Regions from separate parts of the Homo sapiens genome. Here region 1 is linked to region 2. Evidence: promoter capture Hi-C in 16 types of primary human blood cells and fetal thymus (Javierre and others, 2016). All regions are on one chromosome and are shown on one strand. Each heading gives the region's core, a stretch centred on a gene start or on the middle of the fragment in contact. The rest is flanking DNA. Distances are from core to core; before and after follow the strand shown. Region 1 overlaps KLHL15 (kelch like family member 15). Region 2 holds the start of KLHL15 (kelch like family member 15).

Region 1 (3,003 bases), core at 169-2,668, 42 kb before region 2:
ATTTTCATTTTGCAAGACTGCAAAACTCTGTGTTAGTAGAACTTTAATTACTTGGCTTCATTATAAAATTTCCATTGCATATAAGAGTATAAATAATTTCACTCTAATGCTCTCATTTGAATCTGCGGCTGAAAGCACTGGCAGAAATCACATTTTCATGGCACTTCCTTGGCATGTTGAAGGAAAACAAAATGTATTCTGCTAATCAAGTCATTAGTGACTTTGAAAGTGATGGATTATATCAAAAAACAGCAAATAATCAGAGATAAAGAAGTATATTTTAAAGATTAAAAATATTTTATTTAAACTTTTCTTCATAAACACTTTTAACATTTTTTTCAATTTAAAAACAGAATGGATAGCATAAACATGTTTGAATAGATTATATCCACGGCTTGGGAAAAATTACCTGACAAAAATGTAAAGGCTTTCAAAACAGGTATAAAAGGCAAACCTTAAATTATTCTAAGATTTTTATATCGGCCCTAGGATTATTTGACTACTGGCCCAAAATGTACCTAAAGGTCAAAATATTTTTCTATAGACAAAGTATGCCCAAGAGGTATAGGGCATATACAAGTTAGGTAGAAAATAACCTCTCCCAATCACCTCACTGGACCATTCCTTCAGAAAGCAAACACCTAATCCTTACTATATACTGACTAATAACATTTTAAATGCAGTTGTTCCCAAAATGTAAAAAGAAAACCAAAGAATTTAAGGGAGAACAAAGCTGATGGCATTCTCCTCAATGTTACTTGTGTAATATTGAAGTTATACGGTGTACTGAAAGGATATGATTTCCATGAATTTATCTATTCCAGTCTATGCCTACTGAATATTTGACTTTATAAACTCTGGATAAACTAATTTTTAGGACTTCCATTTTTAAGATAAATCTCTTTTTAGAAGATATTTATTCCCAAACCAACTCTAAATGTAATTGAACAAACATATGATCTCTCAAAATGTTCAGAATACAAAAACAAAAATCAAAAATGTATAACAGGCAAACAAGAAAACTGGCACTAGCAGTTTTACTGCCATATAGCCCTCAATTATATCTGATTTACACTATTATCTATGTTGCATTTTACTTCAGTCTAAAACTTTAAATTATGAATTCTCAAAAGAGCTAGTCTCCTCTGAGAGATAGCTTATAAACTGAAATAACAATTTATATTATAAACTGAAATGTTATGACCTACACCCACATATACATATATAAAAATAGTCCCACTGAACGTTTGACATGTTTAGATTATGCAGCTCAAATAATCTGTTATAAAATATTTTAAAGCTTAGTTTCATGTAATTAAGACAAAACTCCATTTTTACCACTTCTCCCCACATAAAGCGTGTGTCCTTTACTATGACTCGAGCAGGCTTCCCAGAATGAGGTGTCCAAAGGTGCTGCTTTAGAAAAGATAAGTGAAGGGCTCAGTCAGTATTTCACAAATTCTAGTAACACTCACACAGAGCAGAGTAATGAGGACACAGAAAGCTGTCTCAAGAAAAGCTAATAATTCTATTAGTTAAGCTTTGCTTTTTAAAAACCAGTAGCATTTCTTCCAACACAAAACCTTCAAAGTGAGAATCTTGCATTTTAAGAAAAGGCTGTAGTGCAAGGAATTTCTTTAAAATCAAAACTTAGAAGGTCAAAGACACGGAAGAGAACAAATGGTTCTAATTAAGATGTAATTAATGAAGATCAGCTATTTTTGTGAACTCTGGCATTTGAGATATAAAGTGAAAACAACACGCATAAAGGTCATAACAGTTAAACTGTATAGATTCAAATCTTACTGAATTTTTCAAAAAACTACTTTTTTGAGCGCAATGTATATAAACAAAAACTCCAAATGAAGCACACAAAAAATAAACTTGAAAAAAATGCTATGAAAAACTTTTCCATAGTTTAGTATAACAAAAATAAATCTCTTGCAGCAATAAAACCATAATTTTAAAAGGGAATGTAAGTTAATCATGGATTTAAAATAACCTAAATTAGAACTACATATAAACAGGGAGTTTTCTCATACATTCAGAACCCAAGCAACAGCAACTATCCTTAAAGCTCAAAACTGATTACAGCTAACATCAGGTCCGACGTGACTTACGTAAAGCTGAACCCAGAGTTAGTTCAAGTTAAGATTTTACGAATTTTACAAAACATGAACTTTGATCTTGGCCTCTGTCTTTAAAATGGAAGACCAAGAATACTCAAATGTTTGCCCAGATGTCACCCTGACTAGGGTCATGAAGTCATATCTAAGCAATTAAAGAGAACCACCACTATAGTGTAAAGGCTTTGATGTGGATACCTGGCCTGATGGCTCTTTCTTGGTCTTTTCTAGCAAAAGACATCAATGAGGAAAATAATGAAGACGTTATTTTCTTTAAAGCAAAATAGCACACATACAAAGCCACTAAACTAATGTAGAAAAAAATTAAATGGCTAACTTATTCCTAACTTTCAAAAATAAAATAATGTATTTTTTAAATGTAGAAAAAGACTTTTACCCATATTACCATGGGAAACAAGATACCAAATTTCATGTTTGGAAACTGTAAGTAAATGACAGGACTAGTTAATGAAAATATAAGTCTCATATATAAAATAAGATTATTATTGATTTTTGAAATCAATGCCAATGGTTTTTTCAAAAGCTACTTATGTACCTGGTTTCTTAAACCCAAATGCCTCCAATTCTGGAGTTTGAAGATCAGGTTTAATCTCATAGTATGTCTAATAACTGCCCAAAAAACCCCCAAAAACCAAAGTCTTCACATTTCCATGACTTCACACTTCCATTTTATGTTCAATGGTGGCAGCAGCAAAAAAACAAACAAACAAACAAAAAAACAAAAAACACCAAACAAAGTGAAACTAGAAAATTTATACATCAGCAGCCATATAGAAGGCATTGCAATATTGCACCAATATTCTAAGATCTGGCAAGTTTTGCCAGTATAGATCTAGTCTGTATCAGATATAGACTA
Region 2 (2,977 bases), core at 120-2,619:
AGGCGGCCGGGCGTCGCGGCCCTGGACTGGGCCCGACGCAGCTTCCCCCGCGGCGCCGCCGTCGGGGCTGAGGACACTCAGCTGTCCTCGTCCCCTTGCAGCGGTCTCTCTCCGCCTGCACGAGCGATGGGCCCTGAGCCACTGCGGTGCGCCCACCCTCGACAAGTTGAGGGCTAGGAAGCCAGGAAAGTGTCTTTTTGCATCTTGGCCACGGTGGGGGTGGGGGAATCGGGGACAACGTGGAGGGAGCTTTTCCATAGCTACCTGTTATAAAAGTGACTAGATCTGCGCCAAATGACATCATTTTTTGTAAGGCAACTTGCAGTGGACTATTGCGTCACTGTCCACTTGGCTTACTGCACAACAATTACACGTTTCAGAAATCGATTTCCCAAGGGTGGGAAAATTCATAAAAAATTGCATGTCTGCACCACCCGGAGATAATGCCGGATTTAAAAAAGCTGTCTCTACTTGCGTCAAAATAATCAAGAACGAACATTCAGAGGGCAGTGATTTTTGTTGTTCGTTTTTTATAGAATTCTAGCTAGTACTTTTTAAATATTACCTTTTCTTGACAAGAATATAAAACTAGACTATAGGACTGTTTTGTAAATTTATTATGGCATCTCTTTCTGGGAAAAGTGTAGATGACGGAAATACACAGTTGGAAGCCCGTGGATCTACAATTAACCTTAAATTAGGGCATCCATTGCCCATAGCAGATCCTAAACTGAGGTATTTCGGCTTCCCCCACCCCCACCCCCCGCCGCCATTTTCTCTCTAGACCAATATCCCGATGAACTTTCCGTGAGAGGTGTCGCTAAAAGCGATAATTATCTCTTTCTAGCAAACTTGAACATACCATCTTTCCCAAGAGGCCAAAATAGCACACGGTGTACTGTTTTGCTGAAGTAGACTACTTCGTGGGAGAGATAACACAATCACTTCAATCTTTTGGAAATACGCTTCCTTATTCCGATTTAAACTATAACAAGCTTTAAAAAAACTGTAAGACACTGAAATTCCCAAGTTGTTCACACTTTCTTTCCATCTTTTCCAATAGCTCCTTTAAGATATTTCTGTTCATTATTTAAAAATCCCTGCTTGCCATATTTGTATCTATTACTACATGACAAATTACCCCAGAATTTCACATTAAAACAAATTTTTAAAATTAAATCATAAAATAAACTTTAAAAATGCATACATTCCACTTCTGAATATTTAAATGTTCATGCATTATTCCCGAACATCTAAACGCTGAGTTTGGATTTTTGTACATTAACTAACATTTTAAGCTATACATTACTATGTGGCACTGACCTGTCTAAAGAGAGGCTTCTGTTCTTGATTCAAGCAAGAGTTGAAACGTTTCTGCGCTCTTTGTACCAGGTATAAATGTAGTGAGTGTATGTCATAAGCCATTGTGTGATCACCGTGCTTCCCGTCCCTCCTTATTTTGACATTGCAAGGTCTCGTGGAATTTCAAATGTGCTTTTTTGGATATTTATGTAGTTTTAAAACTGGGCTGTGTCTTTCAATCAATCTATACGTTTACTATATGAACCCCTCCCCAAGTTATCTTCAATCAATGATGCCTCTTTCACTCTTATTTCTTATTTTTATGTTATTATTATTATTTTTTTTTTGAGACAGTCTCACTCTCGGCCAGGCTGGAGGGCAGAGGCATGATCTCAGCTCACTGCAGCCTTGACCTCCCGGGCTCAAGCAATCCTTCCACCTCAGCCTCCCGAATAGCTAGGACCACAGACGTGCCCCACCATGCTCGGCTAACTTTTCTTTTCTTGTTTTTGTTTGTTTGTTTGTTTTGTTTTTGTTTGCTTGTTTTTTTCTGAGATGGAGTCTGTCGCTCAGGCTGGGGTGCAGTGGATCTCGGCTGACTGCAACCTCCGCCTCCCGGGTTCAAGCGATTATCCTGCCTCAGCCTCCCGAGTAGCTGGGATTACAGGCGCTCGCCACCGTGCCCAGCTAACTTTTGTATTTTTAGTAGAGACGGGGTTTCACTGTGTTGGCTAGGCTGGTCTCAAACCCCCGACCTCATGATCGCCCGCCTTGGCCTCCCAAAGTGCTGGGATTACAAGCGTGAGCCACTGCACTCCAGCTCAGGCAACAGAGCAAAAACACCGTCTCAAAAAAAAAAAAGAAAAGAAAATATATTTTAACTTTCCCCACCAATTTCTGGACTGTAATGGGAGTTGTTAAATACCTTGAGAGTATCCTTTCACACTGGTAGAGTCCCACAGAGGTAGATGGAAGCTGTCTTTTCTTAGCCCTCTAGCCTAAGTATTTGAGAATACACATTCCTCAATAGCTATTTATTTAGCAGCTAGCGAGGTCGGAAGCATGCTAGAAGCCTGGGCCTGGGAGTGCTGGTGGAGTTGGAATGAGGTTCTTCCCCAGGGGTTCTGAGGATTTAGGATACTGCATACCCTCCTCCTCCCTCCTGTTTTTGCTTTTTAAGAAATTGAGGCCAGGCGTGGTGGCTCACGCCTGTAATTCCAGCACTTTGGGAGGCCGAGGCGGAAGGATCATTAGAGGTCAGGAGTTGGAAACCAGCCTGACGAACATAGTGAAACCCCGTCTCTATTAAAAATACAAAAAATTAGCTGGCATGGTGGTGCGGGCCTGCGGTCCCAGCTACTCAGGAGGCTGAGGTAGGAGTATGGCTTGAGCCCAGGAGGCAGAGGTTGCAGTGAGTCGAGATTGCACCACTGCACTCCAGCCTGGACAACGGAACTAGACGCTGTCTCAAAAAAAAAAAAAAGAAAAGAAAAGTTGAGGCTTTTCAGAAATTCCCAGTCTGTGGTAGTTGTCTTGGTAATCACTTTTCTTTTTACTTTTTTTTTTTTTCTTTTTTTTGAGACAGAGTCTCCCTCTATCATCCAGGCTGGAGTGCAGTGGCGTGATTGGCTCACTGCAACCTCTGCCTCCCAGGTTCAAGTGATTCTCCTGCCTC

What was found. The method cuts DNA at HindIII sites, captures the fragments that hold promoters and counts their contacts. A CHiCAGO score of 5 or more calls a contact.
Region 1: a contact is called between a fragment that was not itself captured here and the fragment with the promoter of KLHL15 in region 2, in 6 of 17 cell types (activated CD4 T cells, naive CD8 T cells, total CD8 T cells and 3 more). The highest score is 11.2, in activated CD4 T cells.

What each region holds. Positions count from the first base shown.
Region 1 is chrX:23,983,442-23,986,444 of GRCh38, forward strand. KLHL15 (kelch like family member 15) reads right to left here. Exons shown (of 4, transcript NM_030624.3): 4 at 279-3,003. Among named protein-coding and RNA genes, the nearest start is that of KLHL15, 42 kb to the right of the region's middle. The HindIII fragment of the contact is 240 bases long and covers 1,299-1,538 here.
Region 2 is chrX:24,025,817-24,028,793 of GRCh38, forward strand. KLHL15 (kelch like family member 15) reads right to left here and starts at 1,370. Exons shown (of 4, transcript NM_030624.3): 1 at 1,324-1,370. RefSeq lists enhancers at 1-238, 239-742, 1,950-2,449 and a silencer at 1-71. The HindIII fragment of the contact is 3,234 bases long and covers 994-2,977 here.